5 separate regions of the Homo sapiens genome follow, and regions 2, 3, 4 and 5 are each linked to region 1. The links are contacts of gene promoters, found by promoter capture Hi-C in blood cells and fetal thymus (Javierre and others, 2016). All regions are on one chromosome and are shown on one strand. Each heading gives the region's core, a stretch centred on a gene start or on the middle of the fragment in contact. The rest is flanking DNA. Distances are from core to core; before and after follow the strand shown.

Region 1 (3,319 bases), core at 602-3,101:
TGACATCTTCTGTGCTTACTCTACTTCAAAGTGATTTCTCTCTCTCTTTCTCTTCAAATGGCTTTTTATTGTTCACTGCTATGCTAGTGATTTGAAAGACCAGGTGACCTCTCACCCGTGATGGAGCTTTTGTACAGCAGAGCTGTGCTTTATACAGAATGATCAGCTACAAAGAGCTCTTAGGTGCGGCCCAGGCACAATGGCTCACGCCTGTAATCCCAACACTTTGGAAGGCCTAGGCGGGCAGATCACCTGAGGTTGGGAGTTCCAGGCCAGCCTGGCCAACAGGGATAAACCCCGTCTTTACTAAAAATACAAAATTAGCTGGGCGTGGTGGTGCATGCCTGTAATCCCAGCTACTCGGGAGGCTGAGGAAAGAGAATCGCTTGAACCTGGGAGGCAGCGGAGGTTGCAGTGAGCCGAGATGGCACCATTGCACTCCAGCCCGGGCAACAAGAGCGAAACTCCGTCTCAATAAAAAAAAAAAAAAAAAAAGAAAGAAAGAAAGAAAGAGAGAAAAGAAAAGAGTTCTTAGGTGTGAGGCCCTGCAAGGAGCAAATGGCCTGGGCTACCTTCACTGATGCCCTCAGCACCTTCTAAGGTGAGGCTAACACCAGCTCACATTGATGAGCTAGTGCTGGGCCTGGAGCAAAATGTGTATTTCATTTAAGCTGCCCACCAGCTTGTGAGGCAGGTGCATTACCGTGACGGCGGGGCTCCTCAGAGTGTGTATAAGAAGAAAACTGTGCATGGCCAAAGCTATGCTTGAAAACCCTCAGGAAGGCACCACCTCAAGGACCAACATAGCATCACTTAGTAAAGGCAACAGCCTTGGAACAGATGACTCGTGTGTGTGTGTGTGTGTGTGTGTGTGTGTGTGTGGCATTAGATGAAGTAGTAACTTGTGTTTAGAGGTTGCCTTATTGCACAAATATAGTTGCTTTTATACACTGGACTCACCCTCTGCCAATAAGTTGTTCAGTTATGAGAAATGAACAATGTCTGAAACTAAGAAAACAGCAAATTCTCACCTCCTATCTCCAGGGAATGTGCTCTTTGGCTAGAATATATGGCAGAATCAATAGTGAATAAAATATATTGTGGAAACAATAGTGAATGGAATATATGACACTACCAATAGCAATTGTTAAGTTTTTTTTCTTTTTAATTTTTCTTTTTAGGTTTGTCTAGTTGAATGCATCTAAGTTTTATGTGCATATGAAGAATCACTGTTTTCCTATTATACAGATTTGGAAACTGAGATTCCCAGCTTTTAACTCCTTGCCTAAGGTTGCATAGCACAGAAATAGTCATATCAGAAACTGAGCCCTGTCTGCACAGTGTAGCACCTTGTTCAGCCCTGGGTGCCTGACTCACTCACTCCTTGAGGACCCTCTCATGACAACTGTAAAGAGGCAGCTGAAAGAATCCCAGTCTTTGATGGTGGGAGGGGAAAGTGGTTGGAAAGCATTAAAAAAACATGCTCCAGCAGTTCACTGATGTGGGAAATTGTCTGTATTTCAGGTCAACCGTCAGGATAGATTTTGGTCTGCAAAGCCCCAGCTGAGCAAGAATGCAGTGTAGACATATGGGTGCCCAGAGTTTAAAGGAAAATTACTCAGACTCACATTGGAGTTTAAGACCCCTTCATTGCCTCTCCTACTGGGTTGGGGTGACTGGAGCCAGTGGGGAATTACCAACCCTGTGGCTCTCTCTGCATCTCAAGCCTCCAGAGCTGGGCTTCCTTGTTTACTTATTTAGAGCCCAGCAGAGGAAGTGGTAAAGGAAACTAGCTGAGTCGTTTTCTGAGAAGAGACCATATTTGTTCGCAGAGGAAGCCGTTGCTTTCTGGGATCTGGCTACGCCAGAAAAGACATCGGCTCCAACAGGGGTGTTCCACAGGGTAGCTGGGAGTTGGAAGAGCCAAGAACGCCTCCGAGCTCTGGATTTGAGCTTCTCTGCCCATGGGTGAAGCGCCCATGCTCAGCTTGTGAGCTTCTTCCCGGGAGAGCAGCCATGGCACTGAGGAATGTGCCCTTTCGCTCAGAGGTCCTGGGCTGGGACCCCGACAGCCTTGCTGACTATTTCAAGAAGGTAAGCCTTGCTCTTGTGTGAATGGTCATGATGCTAGTGCCCTTGGTGGGCTGAGCTGAGGCTTGACGATGGAATTGGGGCAGAATGTGGGAGGTGTATAAGATAGCAATGGAACCCTATGGCAACTTTACTGGTTGAGTGAGCGCCATATAGACCGCTGAGTTTTCCTGACCATGAGTTCCGGAGAGAAGGATGGGAGCAGAAGCCCTCAAATGAGTATGTGCCTATTATGTGCTAGGGTTTGAATTCGGTGTCTCACAGGCACTGTCCCATTTAGCGCTCCCTACTATGTTGTGAGGTCAGCATTGTTATCCCCTTGACTCAGCTGCAAAATCAGCTCAGGGAAGTGAAATGGTCCGAAGCCCTAGGGACTACATGTGATAGAGGCAAGACTCAAGCCACACCTATCTGGTTTTAAAGTCCATGCTCTGAGATGCAGAGAACTGTTGTAACTGCTAATGAGATCAACGCTACTTACTAGAAAGGGGAGACGTGGTGTCCTGGAGGCAGGAGAAAGAATAGGCAGGGTGGGAGGGCTGGATAGAGGACTATGATGAGCAGTGCCAGACACAGCATTTGGGCTTTCACTGCTCACGACCCTAAGGGGGGTCCTCAAGCTCCCGCCTGGGGCAGTCTCCTTGGAGCCTTATGAGAGTCTTGTGAAGCAGGACAGAAAACTGATGTGAGCCCCAATTTATAGCTATGAAAACTGAGGCCCCTAGAGGAAAAGAGGCTTGTGGCGGTGCTGGGACCAGAGCGTTGCTGTCTTATCTTCTGGACTTAGAGGAAAGGTTGAAGGATCCCTGTGCTTGGTCATTGGCAGAAGGGGACAACGCATCTGCTTGGGCAGATCTCAAGCCACATGACTTAGTTATAGTCCCTCTACCCTGACCATGTGGTAAGATGACTTGTGCGAGACGGTTAAGCTTCTAACACCCTCATCCCTGCAGGCTGGCATCGGATTCTGTTGATATTCCAGACTGTCATAAAGATGAGATTGTAAAGCTAAGATGGTAGAAGTCATCTAATTCAGCTTCGTGTTTTTCCTGGGGAAATTGAGATTCAAGAGGGTAGACGAGGTTCCCTAGGACGTATAGCCAAACCTGGGGTCTATGCATTTCCGAGGCATTTATAGTCACAGCTGTTCTCCCCCAACCTGAAGAAGAAAATGAGAACATGTTGAACTAGGTGTGGTATGGTAGGGGTACAGTTCACAGATCCTGTT
Region 2 (3,319 bases), core at 268-2,767, 1.9 Mb before region 1:
TTTCGTGGAGTCAGAGCCTTCATCTCCTAGTATGGAAGCAACCCTCTTGGTCTCCCCACCCGCTTCGTACAGTTGGCCAAATGGTCTGAAACAAATGAAAGACCTGCCTTTCAGCATGTTTTGGGAGGTTCAGACAGCGCCTGACTCAATGAGAACGGTCAGCGACGAGCGGCGTTTCCTTCTTTTAAAGACCCTCTACAATTCCAGGCACTCCTGCAGCTGTGGAAACATTCCGAACGGCTTAGCAACCAGGACACCCTCTGCGCCGACCACTACCAGCATCGCAGGCTTCTTGAGCTGGCTTTCCCAGTGGAAAACCATGCTTGGTGTTTGCACACTGTTCAAAGGATGTTTTCGAACAAAGCACCGAGGAAGGGGCGAAAACACCTCAACACAGCCGTTCTCTGGGGTTGGAGCTATTGAACTGTGACATTTGCGAAGACTCAACTTGTTTATGACACGGTCCAAATAATAACCCTTGCAGACTGCCCGCCCCCCCCCCCCACCCCCAGCACTCTCCTTAGATTCAGGTAAAAGCATGTTATAACCGTCTATAGGACAAACAGGCAACAGTAGCAGTGAAGTGACTCAAGTAGCCAGGATCGAGAATGAAGGTGCTCAAAGAAGACTTTAGTTTGATCTGTATGTAGTGCGCTCATCTTTTTTGAAACTAGGAAATTAAAAATTAGAATAAAGTTTTTATTTAATATGCAAATACATCCGCAAACCCATCAGGAAACATAAGAGAAATCAGTGCCAAAGGAGCTCTTTCTCCCAGCCCTCTAATCCTGGCAGGTTTGTGGATCGTGGACGGGGAGCCCCTGGAAAGGACCGCGCCGGGAAGCCGGGCCCTGCAGGGACTGGCCGCGGCTGCACCGGCGTTGCCCGTCGCACACTAGGAGGCAGCACCGCGCCGAGGAACCCGCAGCAGACGGGCAGCCAGCGTGTGTGCCTGGGGCGAGTGCCCTCGCCTGCCGGCGTCCCCATCGGAAAAGTGGGGGCGAGGGCAGCCTAGCGGAATAGCTGCGGGAGGATTAAATGAACGAGTGCAGGTTCACCTTCTGGGCGCTGACAACGATCCGTGGGCTCTCGCGAAATGCCAAGTCGCCGTCCCGCTTGCTCCCATAAAAGTTTTGGGAGCCACGCGGCGCGGCGGGCGGGCTCCTGAGTCCATGAGCGGTCCCACCGAGCGGTCCCCGAAGCTTCCCCAAAGCCCAGCCCGCGGCTCGCGGAGCGTGGTGTGGGGGGACTACAGTTTCCAGAGTGCCCTGCGGCGACGGGCGGAGCCGGGGAGCGCCCGCAGCCAATTAGGGGGTCCCGGGGCTCTGCCGGGGAGCGGCGGGTGGAGCCGGGCCGGTGGGCGGGCGCGGGGACGGTCCCCTGGAACGGGTCCGAGGCTCTCGCAGGCAGGGCTGGGCCGGGCAGGAGCTGCGAGGCCGGCACAAGGGAGGCGGCCCTGGGGACCTGACAGGGCGGGGGCGGGGGCGGGCACGCCGCCGCCTGCGCGGTTCCGGGTGCTCCCGGCGCGGCGCTGCCCAGGGCACACTTGACCGAGGTCGGGCTGCGGGGAAAGGCGGGTCTGGGGAGAACCCCGAGAGACGCGGCGTCCTCCAACTCCTCCTCCTTCTCCTCGCGGCCGCCGAAGCCACAGCCCGAGCCCGAGCCCGAGCCCGAGCCGGCGCCACCGCGCCCCCGGCCATGGCTTTTGCCAATTTCCGCCGCATCCTGCGCCTGTCTACCTTCGAGAAGAGAAAGTCCCGCGAATATGAGCACGTCCGCCGCGACCTGGACCCCAACGAGGTGTGGGAGATCGTGGGCGAGCTGGGCGACGGCGCCTTCGGCAAGGTTTACAAGGTGAGGGCGCTGAGGTGGGTGGCCGGACGCGCGTCGAGGGGCTCCGGAAGGAAGGGATGCCTGAGCCGGACCCGGCCAGCCTGGCTCCGGCTCCGAGGGCTGCCCGGCGCTGAATTCGGGGTCCCTGGCCCTCATCCCGATGACTCTTGTTTTTTGGGGGGAACATCACTCGGCCCGGCCGAGTCCCTGCGCTCTGGGCGCCCCCTCCGGGCACGGTTGCCGCCCCCACCCTAGCCCTGTTTCGGAGCACTTCCTGTGTGTCCTGCACTGCGCTCGGCGCCGCACGGGGAGACAAAGGGGCGTTGACAGGACCTCAGCATCCGAGAGGGCCACTCGAGGGACCTTCCAGGGACGTTCCGTAAAACGGCGATACGGGCACACTTTTTTTTTTAAGAGAGACCACAGATGCTGTGGGAATATCGAGGCGATGTGGACCGAGAAACTCGGCTGCGCTTGGACGGGTTGGGAGCTAGGGACACATCTGAAGATGAGCCAGAGACAGGGAAGTGGGGTGGGCGAGGGGTGGCCCATGGACTGAGAGGTGGGGCTTGGAAAGGTGGGTTGGGGCTGGTCAGAGGGGGAGGTCAGGATCTGGTGAATGCTGAGCCTGGGGGAACAGATTTGATTCCGTCGGTCTGAGTCACAGCTGGGGAGTCTCCCAGCCTGCAGTCACCTCTCCCCTAGAGGAAGACGCGGCAGAGAGCTTTTGTGGAGTGGGTGGGGCAGAGCTGATTGAGTCTAGAGAAGTGTGGCAGCAGGACGTTGGTTTCTGCTCCTGGGAGCTAATTCTGAGGTGGTGAGTTGTTTTAGGGAGCCAACACCTACAGCTTGACTCCCCCCTTTCCCCTAAGAAAATTTTTACTGGGAGACGCCCACTTGTTAAATTGGTGTATACCTCCAGGAGAGCACCTCTCTTCTAAGCCACTATCCTCCTCCTTGGGGCTCCTGTAGCTTGTAGGGCACTCTGACCCTAGGATTGCCGTTCTATGAGGCTGGACCACAGAGAAGGCTTCTCCAGGCCTTCTCCTCTGACTTGGAAGTGGTCTATCGCCTAGTTACCGAAGTAGTTCCTAGATGACCGGTGTTATAATAGCATCATTTGGGAGCTTGTCAGAAGTGAACAATCTCATGCCCAGCCCCGACCTGCTGAATTAGAGTCTACGTTTTAATAAGATCCCAGGTGATTCCTAAGCAAATAGGTTTGAGAAGTACTGCCCTAGAGGCTTGGAGTGGTGGCGTTTTTTCTTTTTTCTTTTCTTTTTTTTGAGACAGGGTTTCCCTCTGTTGCTCAGTCTGGAGTGCAGTGGCCCGATCTCGGCTCACTGCAACCTCTGCCTCCTGGGCTCAAGCAATTCTCCTGCCTCAGCCTTCGGAGTAGCTAGGTCTACAGGTGCACACCACAGCCCGGCTAATTTTTGTATTTTTTGTAGACTTGGGGTTTCGCCACGTAGCCCAGGCTTGTCAT
Region 3 (3,319 bases), core at 443-2,942, 1.9 Mb before region 1:
CCAGGGGCCTTAGTGGGCTCTAAACTCAAGCCCATGTCAGCTGGCCACCCCGGCTCTGTGTCTGCTGTCCTCAGGTCACCCCCTTTGGCTTTATGTTGGGCCCTTTTCCTGCACATAGTCAGTTCTGCTGTGACCGTGGTTTTCTCTGGGGCCAGATTTTCTCTCTCCTAAATAGAGTCGCAGCCCTTCCTGCGATTGACCGCCTTCATCACCATGCAAAGATTAACTGTGTTCAGGCAGGGACAGCACAGCTGTACATTGTGTGACACCCAGACCAAGCCCTGCTTTGGTTCCAGTGGCCTGAACCATATTTGATACATGCCTGGCACGGCCGTCCAGAATAAAGACAGGGAAATAGGAACCCTGAGCCCTGACTGCTCCGTCCTTTGGCTCTGACCCACACCCAGGCTTTTCATCCGACAGGTCAGCTGGGAGCCTTCCCTCACACCTGCCACTCAGCCAGGTTGCTAGGAGACTTCCGTAGCAAATGATCATTGGGTGGGGTTCCTCTGCTGATTCCTTGCACATGTCCCCTTTTGCTTCCTAGAAAAAGAAACCCATGTTTCAGAATCTGGGTCTGGGACAGTGGAGTGAGTTTTAGATGCTCCCTTACCTCCGAAGAGGCATTTTCTGCCAGAGAGGGCTGGGGGTGAACTTTCTACAGTGATCGAAGTGTTCTGTATGTACCTGCTCTGTTCAATACGGTAGCCACAGTGTGGTGGCACGTGAAATGTGGCTAATGCAACTGAGGAACTAAATTTTTGCTTCATATCTATTAATTTAAATAGCCACGTGCGGCTAGTAGCTACTGTATCAGACAGTGCAGCTCATGTGGGTTCCGAAAGAACGAGGGTGTCTGTCTCTGGAACGTGTAAGGCAAGCTCAGATGAAGTGGTCTCTCTCTATGTGGGAGGCTTATTTGCACCAGTCCCAGTCTGCCCTCGCTGGGACCCCTGTGGATAATTGCCAGATGTCACTGGGTGAAAATCATCTTTATAAATCGCTTGACTTCATTATGCTGTGTTTTAGCTCGTCCCTGTCCATAGGCACATGCAGTTTTCCCAAAGGAAAATTGTAGCCTAGTTACAATTTCATTATCCTATTTTGTTATTTACTATTATGGCTTAAGGATTTTTTCTCATTACTGTATTATCTTCTTGTTTATCATTTAAGGGTTACTTAATATCCCATTAAGTTAATTTAACCATTGTCTTTAGTGATTTCACCTTTTTTCTATTATTATGGACTAATATAAACTGAACATGATCCTAGTACATTTCTTTTGTTGCCTTTCTTTTTTTTCTTTTTTTTTTTTTGAGACAGATTCTTGCTCTGTTCCCAGGCTGGAGTGCAGTGGCACGATCTCAGCTCACCACAACCTCTGCCTCCCAGGTTCAAGTGATTCTTCTGCCCCAGCCTCCCGAGTAGCTGGGACTACAGGTGCGCGCCATCTTGCCTGGCTAATTTTTGTATTTTTAGTAGAGACGGGGTTTCACTATGTTGGTCAGCCTGGCCTCGAACTTCTGACTTTCTGATCCGCCCGCCTCAGCCCCTCAAAGTGCTGGGATTACAGGCACGAGCCACCGTGCCTGGCCTGTTGTCTTTTTAAAAGTATTTCCTGGCCTTAAATTCCCAGGAATGAGGGATAATAGGCTGAAAAGGTATTTTCATGGCTTTTAAAACCTATTTCCAATTGTTGTCTTTGAAAGATTGAATCAGTTTCTATTCTTGTCAGTAATGCGTTCACCCATTTTACTACATCGTCTCCAGTGCTGGGTTGTCACAATTGCATGTTTTTGCTAATTTATTAAGTGTAAAATGATCCTTTCCACTTTTTTGGAGGAAGATTCTTTTGGCAGAAGAATTCCATAGTTGCTGTTGGCCTCTGTCCTACGTGTTTTCCATGTAGGTCTCCAAATCCTAGATTATCAGTCAGCTCTTTGGTGAGGTCTCAGTGAATGTCACCTTATAGATTATGGTGGGCTTGGGAATGAAGGTGGCCCTTGATACACGCGTGTTGTGTGGTGAGGCACTCCTCTAGATATCTGTTCCTTGCTGGAACAGCCCCAGAGAGAGGGAACTCATCTCCTTCTTGGTGGCCAATGGCAGGAATCCAAAAGGGAATTTATCGGCTCATGTAACTGAGAAGTCTACGGGTAGAGTCCGCCTTCAGGTACAGCTGTCTCCAGGTGTTCCACAGAGCCAGTAGCACTCCATTTGTGAGCCCTGCTTCTGCCATCTTGGCCTCACCCTCCGGCAGCCACTCTGAAGGAGTGGCAAGATGGGCTACAAGACCCTTCAGCCTTTCATTCTACCGATTTAGCAGCGCCAGAGAAAGAAAAAGCTGCTGTCCTGATAACTTCAGCAAAAATGCAAACAACTGGCCGAGCGCAGTGGCTCACGCCTGTAATCCCTGCGCTTTGGGAGGCCAAGGTGGGCGGATCACTTGAGGTCGGGAGTTCGAGACCAGCCTGACCAACATGGAGAAACCCCGTCGCCACTAAAAATACAAAAACAGCCGGGCGTGGTGGCGCATGCCTGTAATCCCAGCTACTCGGGAGGCTGAGGCAGGAGAATCACTTGAATCCGGGAGGTGGAGGTTGCAGTGAGCCAAGATCGCACCATTGCACTCCAGCCTGGGCAACAAAGAGGGAAACTCCGTCTCAAAAAAAAAAAAAAAAGCAAACAACCAAAAACAAATTTAAAGAGCCACCCAGGCACGACCCTGTTGGCCTGCCTTGGGACCATGCCCAGGCATCTCTGAACCAATGACTGTGACAAGTTTCATTTTCAGGCGCCCTTGGTTCAGTCCTCTGATTAGCTGGGCCTGGGGTATGCCCCGGCCCAGGGTGAGGTCAACCCGCTATGAATCCCTTGGACTCAGAGCGAGGGAGAGGCAGTGTCCAAAAGCAACTAGAGTTTTGAATCCACAAGGGGGAATGGATGCTGGCCAAGTCCCCCACTGCTCCCCAGCCCCAGGGTCAATTTCCCAGCAGCTCCAGTGGCTCCCAGACCTGAGGTTAGGGGTGCCCCAGGAACAGGCCCCTCTAGGCTCTTTGCTCTTGTGTTCTCATTTACTCTTCTTGAGGCACACCTGTGTCACAGATGAGACAAGTGTCACAGATGGGACCCTGGTCTCTGCATTCGCCTTGGTGGACTCAGCTTCCTCATCTGCAGAGTTGGGTTGGGGAGCTGGAGTTAAGGAGGGGTGGCTAATGTTTTCTCACTGTCCTGAGGTCTGTGATATCAGCTATTTCCCGGGAAGCGGTGGGAGCAACACACTGATCAGTGGGCAGCCGGGAGGGAAGGGGAGGGCCTG
Region 4 (3,319 bases), core at 357-2,856, 1.8 Mb before region 1:
CACTCCGGTCTGGGCAACAGAGTAAGACCCTGTTTCACGAAAACAAAAACAAAAACAAAAACAAAAAAACAAACAACACATAGTTGGTGCTCAATAAACAGTCACTTCCAGCATGACCACCACTTTAGCCTATGGTTAGTTACTTCAGCATCCCCAACTCCCAACCCCCATGCCCCGCCCAATGTGCTGGAGACTTGGCAGGTGGACCAGTCAGGAAGCCAACTGCCCATCTCTCACTGCTGCCTTCACCCAGCCCAGCATTGCTATTTCCTGCTACCAGCAGGCTGGGGGCCTGGTTCTTTCACTAGAGCTACCATGCACTGAGCCAGCATCTGATATGTGTTAACTCATTCCATTCTCAAAAGCCACTGATATCATCTTGCAGGATGGATTTGGGACCTAGCAAGACTGACTTATCCAAGGTCACATTGCCGATAAGAGGAACAACTGGGGTTCAAACCAAGGCAGCTGGGTCCAGAGCCTACGTGCTTAACCACTACCCTCTTGTCGCCTCTCTTAGTGGCAAATGATAAAAACCCACTTCCTAAGAGTTAAGGCAGACAGGAAAATGTGTACATCATGGAGCCAAATTGGAGAAGAAATACAGCTGGGTGGGCCTTAAAGTTAGTTGAAACCTGGAACATAAACGCTGCCAGGACCGTATCCCTGGCCCTTAACGCTGCCAGGACCGTATCCCTGGCCCTTGGCTTTCTGTGCATGTAGGTTCGGCTCCCAGACCAACCCTCTCCACCAAGCTCAGGATACCATCTAGTTTCACATTTCCCGGCATCATCTGCTGCTGCCTGAACCCGAACTCACCATTGGAGGCTTTGGCATCAATAATCCCAGGGGAGGGCTCTGACTGGCCCCGTTTGGCCCAGATAGTAATCCTTGGACCAATCAGTGAGGCCCAGGCAGGAGGGGGTCTCCCACAGGCCCGGCTTGTCTTCAGTCTCTGGCACGGAGGGTGGGGTCACGTGACAACACGGAAGTAGCCCTCGCCCCCGCAATGAGGCAGTGTGGTGGGTGGGGAGATGGTTTTTCAGAGGAAGGGAGGATTCGGACTGGCCAGAAAAAAAAATTGCGGTCTACCTACCCTGCCCAGCCTGTGAGAATCGCACAGGCCCAGCAGAGGGGAAGTAAGTGAGGCAGAAGCTTGAGGGATGGGAAGCAACAAGAAAGGGCTGGGTTGGCGGTGAGTGCGTGGAGGGTGTCAGGAAGACAGTGCAGTGTGTTGCGAGGAGGAGAGTCAGTGAAGGCCGAAGGTGGGGGGTCAAACCGGAAGACGAAGCCCTTATCAAATGGGCACGCGTCTCTAGGTTCCTAAAAAACGGAAGAAAATAAAAATAACCGGCCGGGTGCGGTGGCTCACGCCTGTAATCCCAGCACTTTGGGAGGCCGAGGCGGGCGGATCACGAGGTCAGGAGATCAAGACCATCCTGGCTAACACGGTGAAATCCCATCTCTACTAAAAATACAAAAAAATTAGCCAGGCATGGTGGCGGGCGCCTGTAGTCCCAGCTACTCGGGAGGCTGAGGTAGGAGAATGGCGTGAACCCGGGAGGCGGAGCTTGCAGTGAGCCGAGATTGCGCCACTGCACTCCAGCCTGGGCGACAGAGTGAGACTCCGTCTCAAAAAAAAAAAAAAAAAAAAAAAAAAATATATATATATATATATATATATAATTTTAATATACATAAATTTGGAGCTATACACAGCAAACCCGTAAATGTTTAGTTGTCAGTATTATAGTTTTTAATCTGAAAAATAATGAGTTTTTAATAAGCAACATGACTTTGGTAATCAGAAAACACACATACACACACACACACACACACACACACGAGAGTAGCTAGAGTCCTGTACACAATTTGGAATAAGACCCACAAAAAGGAGAATTAAGGTCCTTCCTAATCCTGCCAGAATAAACCACCACTCTCCGTGGGCTTCCCTCCAAGTCTTTTTTTGTCTGCAGAAAAGTCGGATCAGATAGTGGGAAAGAGCACAGCTGGGTGACCTTCTGTGCATTACTTAGTCTTTCTTAAGTTAAGCTTCCTTATCTGTAAAATGGGAGTCATAATTTTCCCTGCCTTAAAGGGTCATAGATATAAACGATGTGTGTAGGAATAGATATGCAGATGATATGCATAAGTTTCTTTGCACAGTGCTATGCATATGGTAAGTTCTCAGTAAATATTAGTTTTTCTTTTTTTTTTTTTTGAGATGGAGTTTTGCTTTTGTTGCCCAGGCTGGAGTGCAATGGCACGATCTTAGCTCTCCACAACCGCTGCCTCCTGGGTTCAAGCGATTCTCTTGCATCAGCCTCCTGAGCAGCTGGGATTACAGGCATGTGCCACCACGCCTGGCTAATTTCGTATTTTTAGTAGAGAGGGGATTTTTCCATGTTGGTTTTTGTCTCGAACTCCTGACCTCAGGTGATCTGCCTGCCTCAGCCTCCCAAAGTGCTGGGATTACAGGCATGAGCCACCGTGTCCGGTGACAATATTAGTTTTTATAAGATAAACTAGGATTATTATATATATATACAGTTTCCTAGTCTGGTTTTTAACATTGAATATCAGCGTATTCCTCCATATCCTTAAAGATTCCTCAGAAACATGATTATTTTCGTGTTTTTCTTGTACCCATCACAGGCACAAAATGTAATTTACCTATCAGAGCCCTGAGGAAAGCCCTGAATTGGATACTTGGGTTTCTCATGAGGTTTATCATCTTTACGAAATCATGCAGTGATGAGTGTGCTTGTTCATGGATCTTTGCGTCTCTTTCTGTAACATACCTTGAAGAGGAATTCTCAGAAGCAGAGTGCTGGGTGTGTGCAGTGAGTTGGGGTTTTGTTCATCCTGCAGCCGGCATGCCCTCCGTGCTGGTCATACCAGTTGACACCCCCCCCAGTGCAGTGTGCAATTCTCTTTTCACCACATCCTGGCCCCTACTGGGTTTTACTTAATAGAGAAAAAACAAAAAAACCCACAAAACCAAAAAACTTTGCTACATATGCATTTCAGTTTTTTAAACCATAGAAACAATACACTCTATCAAAAACATTTTAAAGAACAAAAGTGGGTCGGGCGCGTTGGCTCATGCCTGTAATCCTAGCACTTTGGGAGGCCGAGGCAGGTGGATCACCTGAGGTCGGGATTTTGAGACCAGCCTGACCAACATGATGAAACCCCCCGTCTCTACTAAAAATACAAAATTAGCCGGGCGTGGTGGCGCATGCCTGTAATCCCAGCTGCTTGGGAGGCTGAGGCAGGAGAATTGCTTGAACCCGGAAGGTGGAGGTTGCAGTGAGCC
Region 5 (3,319 bases), core at 557-3,056, 1.1 Mb before region 1:
ACGGTTACAAACATGAATAGCTTACTATTACAAAAGAAAAATGACAAAAGTAAAAGAACCGAAGTTTGCTACAGGGATCAACACTCCACTCTTTAAAGCAACAGAAAGTGACATACGCCTCAAACTATATTCAGAAATTATGTTTAAGACAAGGAGGGTTCTTTCCGATAGTTATCAAAAAGTACTGATATAAATTTACCAGAATTCTCAGCTATCCAAAATAACTAGGAATTAAAGCCTTAATGTTTTGAATACATATGTCTACTCTCACTCCATGAATGGGCAAAATTCTTCAAAACACTGTCAGAATAAAAATTTTAAATGATTCCATTTAACTATCATCTAACCGTTACCAATACATATACATGCTTAAATGTGAACAGACGTTTAATTAACAAATCTCAGCACGGATAATGAACAAGATAAAATTCACGGTAGGATTTGCATTTACTTCAAAGTCTGAATAGTACAAAGATTAGGCTTCTGCAATTAATCCTACTGAGATCAAAAACCCAAGTGGGACTCTCCTTTTTGGGGCAGGACTACCGCAAGTCGAGGGGGGTGGTGCTCCCAAAATTCTGCGAATAGTCTTAGGTCTTGATCTGACTCAAACCGAACACTCTACGTGTTTCTTGTATTTAGAAAAGCAGTTTGGTCAATGCCGCACAAATGGCGGCATGCGAGGACGTCCCCCTAAAACGAAGCCTCATTAATATTCACGAAGCAGCAGCTACGGAGTCAAGCGTCTTGGTTTAGATTTAGTCTCTTATTGCCTTTACTAAGTACAACCTTCGTTAAGTGAGTTTATCTCTGGGCACCAGTATCCTCATCTGCAAAGTGGGGCTAGCTCCACCTACCGCAGTGAGACAGAAAAGGGGCTCAAAAAAATGAGAGCTGCCATCACAGTACATGCTGTAAGCACTGAACAAAGACCTCCAGAACCCTAGTGCTACCAGCCTCTTAACATTTCCCACTTCAACAGAGCCACAGCATCCCTGGCTCACGAGTGGCAACACGCCGGTGAGTCCCGGATGTAGCGCCCACACCCCCCTCCCTCCCCCAACCACGTGGCAACCACGTGCTCCCAGCGGTTGCGGCCTCCTCACGCCGCGCCGCGCCTCCCCACCCCCAGTAACTGGCCGAAGCACGCGAGGTAAGTCTACGTCCGGCAGCTCCAGGCTCTGAGGCCAGAATAACGCCAGGCTGTGCATCTACCCGCTCCAACAAGCAGGCCCATGCTTCCCGGTGAACCCAGCCTCCAGGACCACCAACCCGGGGCCTGGCATCAGAAGCCTATGAACCACCGCCGTTAGAAAATAAACCACGCCTGGAGCTCCGCCACGTATCCCCGGCAAAGGCCGAACTTCCAGGCGGCCGGTTCCACTTTACCTCAGGCCCCGGGCCTCGGACCGCTCACGCCCCAGACGCTTCAGGCCGCTCGTCTCCTCCCCCTTCACGCCACCGGCTCCCCCCGCGGCTCCAATCCCTCCAGGTCCAGGGCTCAGGCAGCTCTTCCCACCCGCTCAGGCCTCCCGTCGGTCTGGCGGTCTCCACCAGACCCGGTTGCAGCCGGATTCCCGCCCCTCACCCCCACCCTCACCGCCACCAGGCCCCGCTCGGCCTCGCTCCAGCTCCCCCCAGCAGTTACCGAAAAGATAGTTCTGGGGCCTCAGGGGGCTCATGTCCATGTCCATCGAATCTTCCATCGGGTGGCGGCACGCACTTAGGTAGGAGAGAAGGCGGACGGAGATAAAAGAACGCTGCTCCAGAGAACAACCGCGCAGGACGGAATCACACCAGGGAAAGGACGCAGGCTCCCCGCGCTTATATATAGACCCTGAAGATCTCGCGAGCGCTTCCCAAGTCCCGCCTCCGCGCGCGTGCTCCGAAGCCCTCCCACCCCCGTACCGTAGCCGTCCTGCGCAAGCGCTTTTCAACCCCACTCCTTTCTACCTCGCCCCCACCTCCTTCCAGGTACTCCGCGGGCTCCCACCGAGCACGCGCACTCGTACACTGGCCCCACCCCTCCGCTGCTGTCGCCTGTGCGCACGCGTGCTTTCCAGTCGTAACGCGCACTCCCCACCTCCAACCCTTCCACGTCCTCTCCCGCTCAAGCGCGCCGGCCTCCCGCCAAGAGTCTGCGCAGCCCACCCTGCAAAATGGCGTCGGCAGCCCTTAGCTGTGTAAGATATGGCGGGTTAGCCGGCTGCGAATGAGCCAGAGAGCACCTCGATTCACCTTTCCCCATCCCCTAGTGCCCTGCAAGCCTCCAAACAGGCGTAATCACTTCAGGAATTTTTTACTTGCCTGAAGGCTTCGGATCGCAGTTAATCGTTACCCCAAAGTTCAGGTGCCAGAGAGAGTGAATTGCGGCTTATTCTTTGTTAGGAAGGAAAGATGTAGTTACCGGCCAGACTTACGGAACTTTGTTTTTCAGCTCTGTCCTTCCTGAGAAAACATCTCCAAAGTCCTTATCTTTACGTAACTTGGGGGCCAAAAGGGGACTGAATCAGTCTCCAAATTAGCAAGGACATCGCCCTAAGAGAGCTCGGAGGGTGGGCCGACTCTGACTTCTTGCCGCTCTTAATCTTTAACATTCCTCCTGAAAGAAAGCGGGTGACTTGTAAGAACTACAGAAGCCTTAATTCGAATATTTGGGAGCGAGCATGGGAATTAACGTTTTAAGCTACACCTTGACAAACTCCGAGGCACCCCAGCACCCCGCGGGCATTGGGGCGTTCTGAAGACCCGTAATCTTTTTTTTTTAAGCCTCAACATATCAAACAAATTTAAGAAGTGAGGAATACAAATGATAGCCTCAGAAAGGAAGACACCCCCACCCCAAGGCATTATTTCTTACAGGAAAATTATAGAGACGATTTCAGTGTCTATCAAGAGAGGAATGAACAGTTAAATTATAACATGTCCATATTATGGGTTAGTTGTGGACACATACTAACGCATAATATGGACATGTTATAATTTAACTGTTCCTTTCTGAGAGCTCCTGTGTCACATAAAGCTTTGAGTCACTTAAATTTGTTATGCCTTTTTTTGTGTGTGTGTGGAGACAGAGTCTCGCTGTGTTGTCCAGGCTGGAGTGCAGTGGCGTGATCTCCGCTGGATGCAACCTCCGCCTCCCGGGCTCCCGAGTAGCGAGGACTACAGGTGCATGCCACCACGCCCGACTAATTTTTGTATTTTAGGAGGGATGGGGTTTCGCTGTGTTCTCCAGGCTGGGCTCAAACTCCTGACCTCGGGTGATCCGCCTGTCTCTGCCTTCCAAAGTGCTGGGATTTCAGGCGTGAGCCACCGCACC

Evidence for each region. The method cuts DNA at HindIII sites, captures the fragments that hold promoters and counts their contacts. A CHiCAGO score of 5 or more calls a contact.
Region 2: the fragment with the promoter of STK10 here is called in contact with the fragment with the promoter of LCP2 in region 1 in 1 of 17 cell types (non-activated CD4 T cells); the score reaches 6.2 in non-activated CD4 T cells.
Region 3: a contact is called between a fragment that was not itself captured here and the fragment with the promoter of LCP2 in region 1, in 1 of 17 cell types (non-activated CD4 T cells). The highest score is 6.3, in non-activated CD4 T cells.
Region 4: a fragment that was not itself captured here is called in contact with the fragment with the promoter of LCP2 in region 1 in 2 of 17 cell types (non-activated CD4 T cells and total CD8 T cells); the score reaches 8.5 in non-activated CD4 T cells.
Region 5: the fragment with the promoter of NPM1 here is called in contact with the fragment with the promoter of LCP2 in region 1 in 2 of 17 cell types (activated CD4 T cells and naive CD4 T cells); the score reaches 8.2 in activated CD4 T cells.

The regions. Positions count from the first base shown.
Region 1 is chr5:170,296,309-170,299,627 of GRCh38, reverse strand. LCP2 (lymphocyte cytosolic protein 2) reads left to right here and starts at 1,851. Exons shown (of 21, transcript NM_005565.5): 1 at 1,851-2,094. The coding sequence starts at 2,017. RefSeq lists an enhancer at 2,669-2,748. The HindIII fragment of the contact is 7,744 bases long and covers 1-3,022 here.
Region 2 is chr5:172,186,422-172,189,740 of GRCh38, reverse strand. It overlaps STK10 (serine/threonine kinase 10), which reads left to right and starts at 1,517. Exons shown (of 19, transcript NM_005990.4): 1 at 1,517-1,854. The coding sequence starts at 1,699. RefSeq lists enhancers at 757-1,532, 2,585-2,664 and silencers at 1,205-1,564, 1,865-1,914, 2,045-2,124. The HindIII fragment of the contact is 8,713 bases long and covers 1,205-3,319 here.
Region 3 is chr5:172,165,156-172,168,474 of GRCh38, reverse strand. The region is part of intron 1 of STK10 (serine/threonine kinase 10); the gene reads left to right. Among named protein-coding and RNA genes, the nearest start is that of STK10, 21 kb to the left of the region's middle. RefSeq lists an enhancer at 2,999-3,319. The HindIII fragment of the contact is 8,822 bases long and covers 1-3,319 here.
Region 4 is chr5:172,112,816-172,116,134 of GRCh38, reverse strand. All of the region lies in intron 4 of STK10 (serine/threonine kinase 10), which reads left to right. Among named protein-coding and RNA genes, the nearest start is that of STK10, 74 kb to the left of the region's middle. RefSeq lists enhancers at 538-1,038, 967-1,276. The HindIII fragment of the contact is 897 bases long and covers 1,158-2,054 here.
Region 5 is chr5:171,386,336-171,389,654 of GRCh38, reverse strand. NPM1 (nucleophosmin 1) reads right to left here and starts at 1,806. Exons shown (of 11, transcript NM_002520.7): 1 at 1,649-1,806. The coding sequence starts at 1,706. It overlaps MIR3912 (microRNA 3912), which reads left to right and starts at 2,895; the gene lies at 2,895-2,999. RefSeq lists silencers at 1,086-1,145, 1,466-1,525. The HindIII fragment of the contact is 7,200 bases long and covers 1-3,024 here.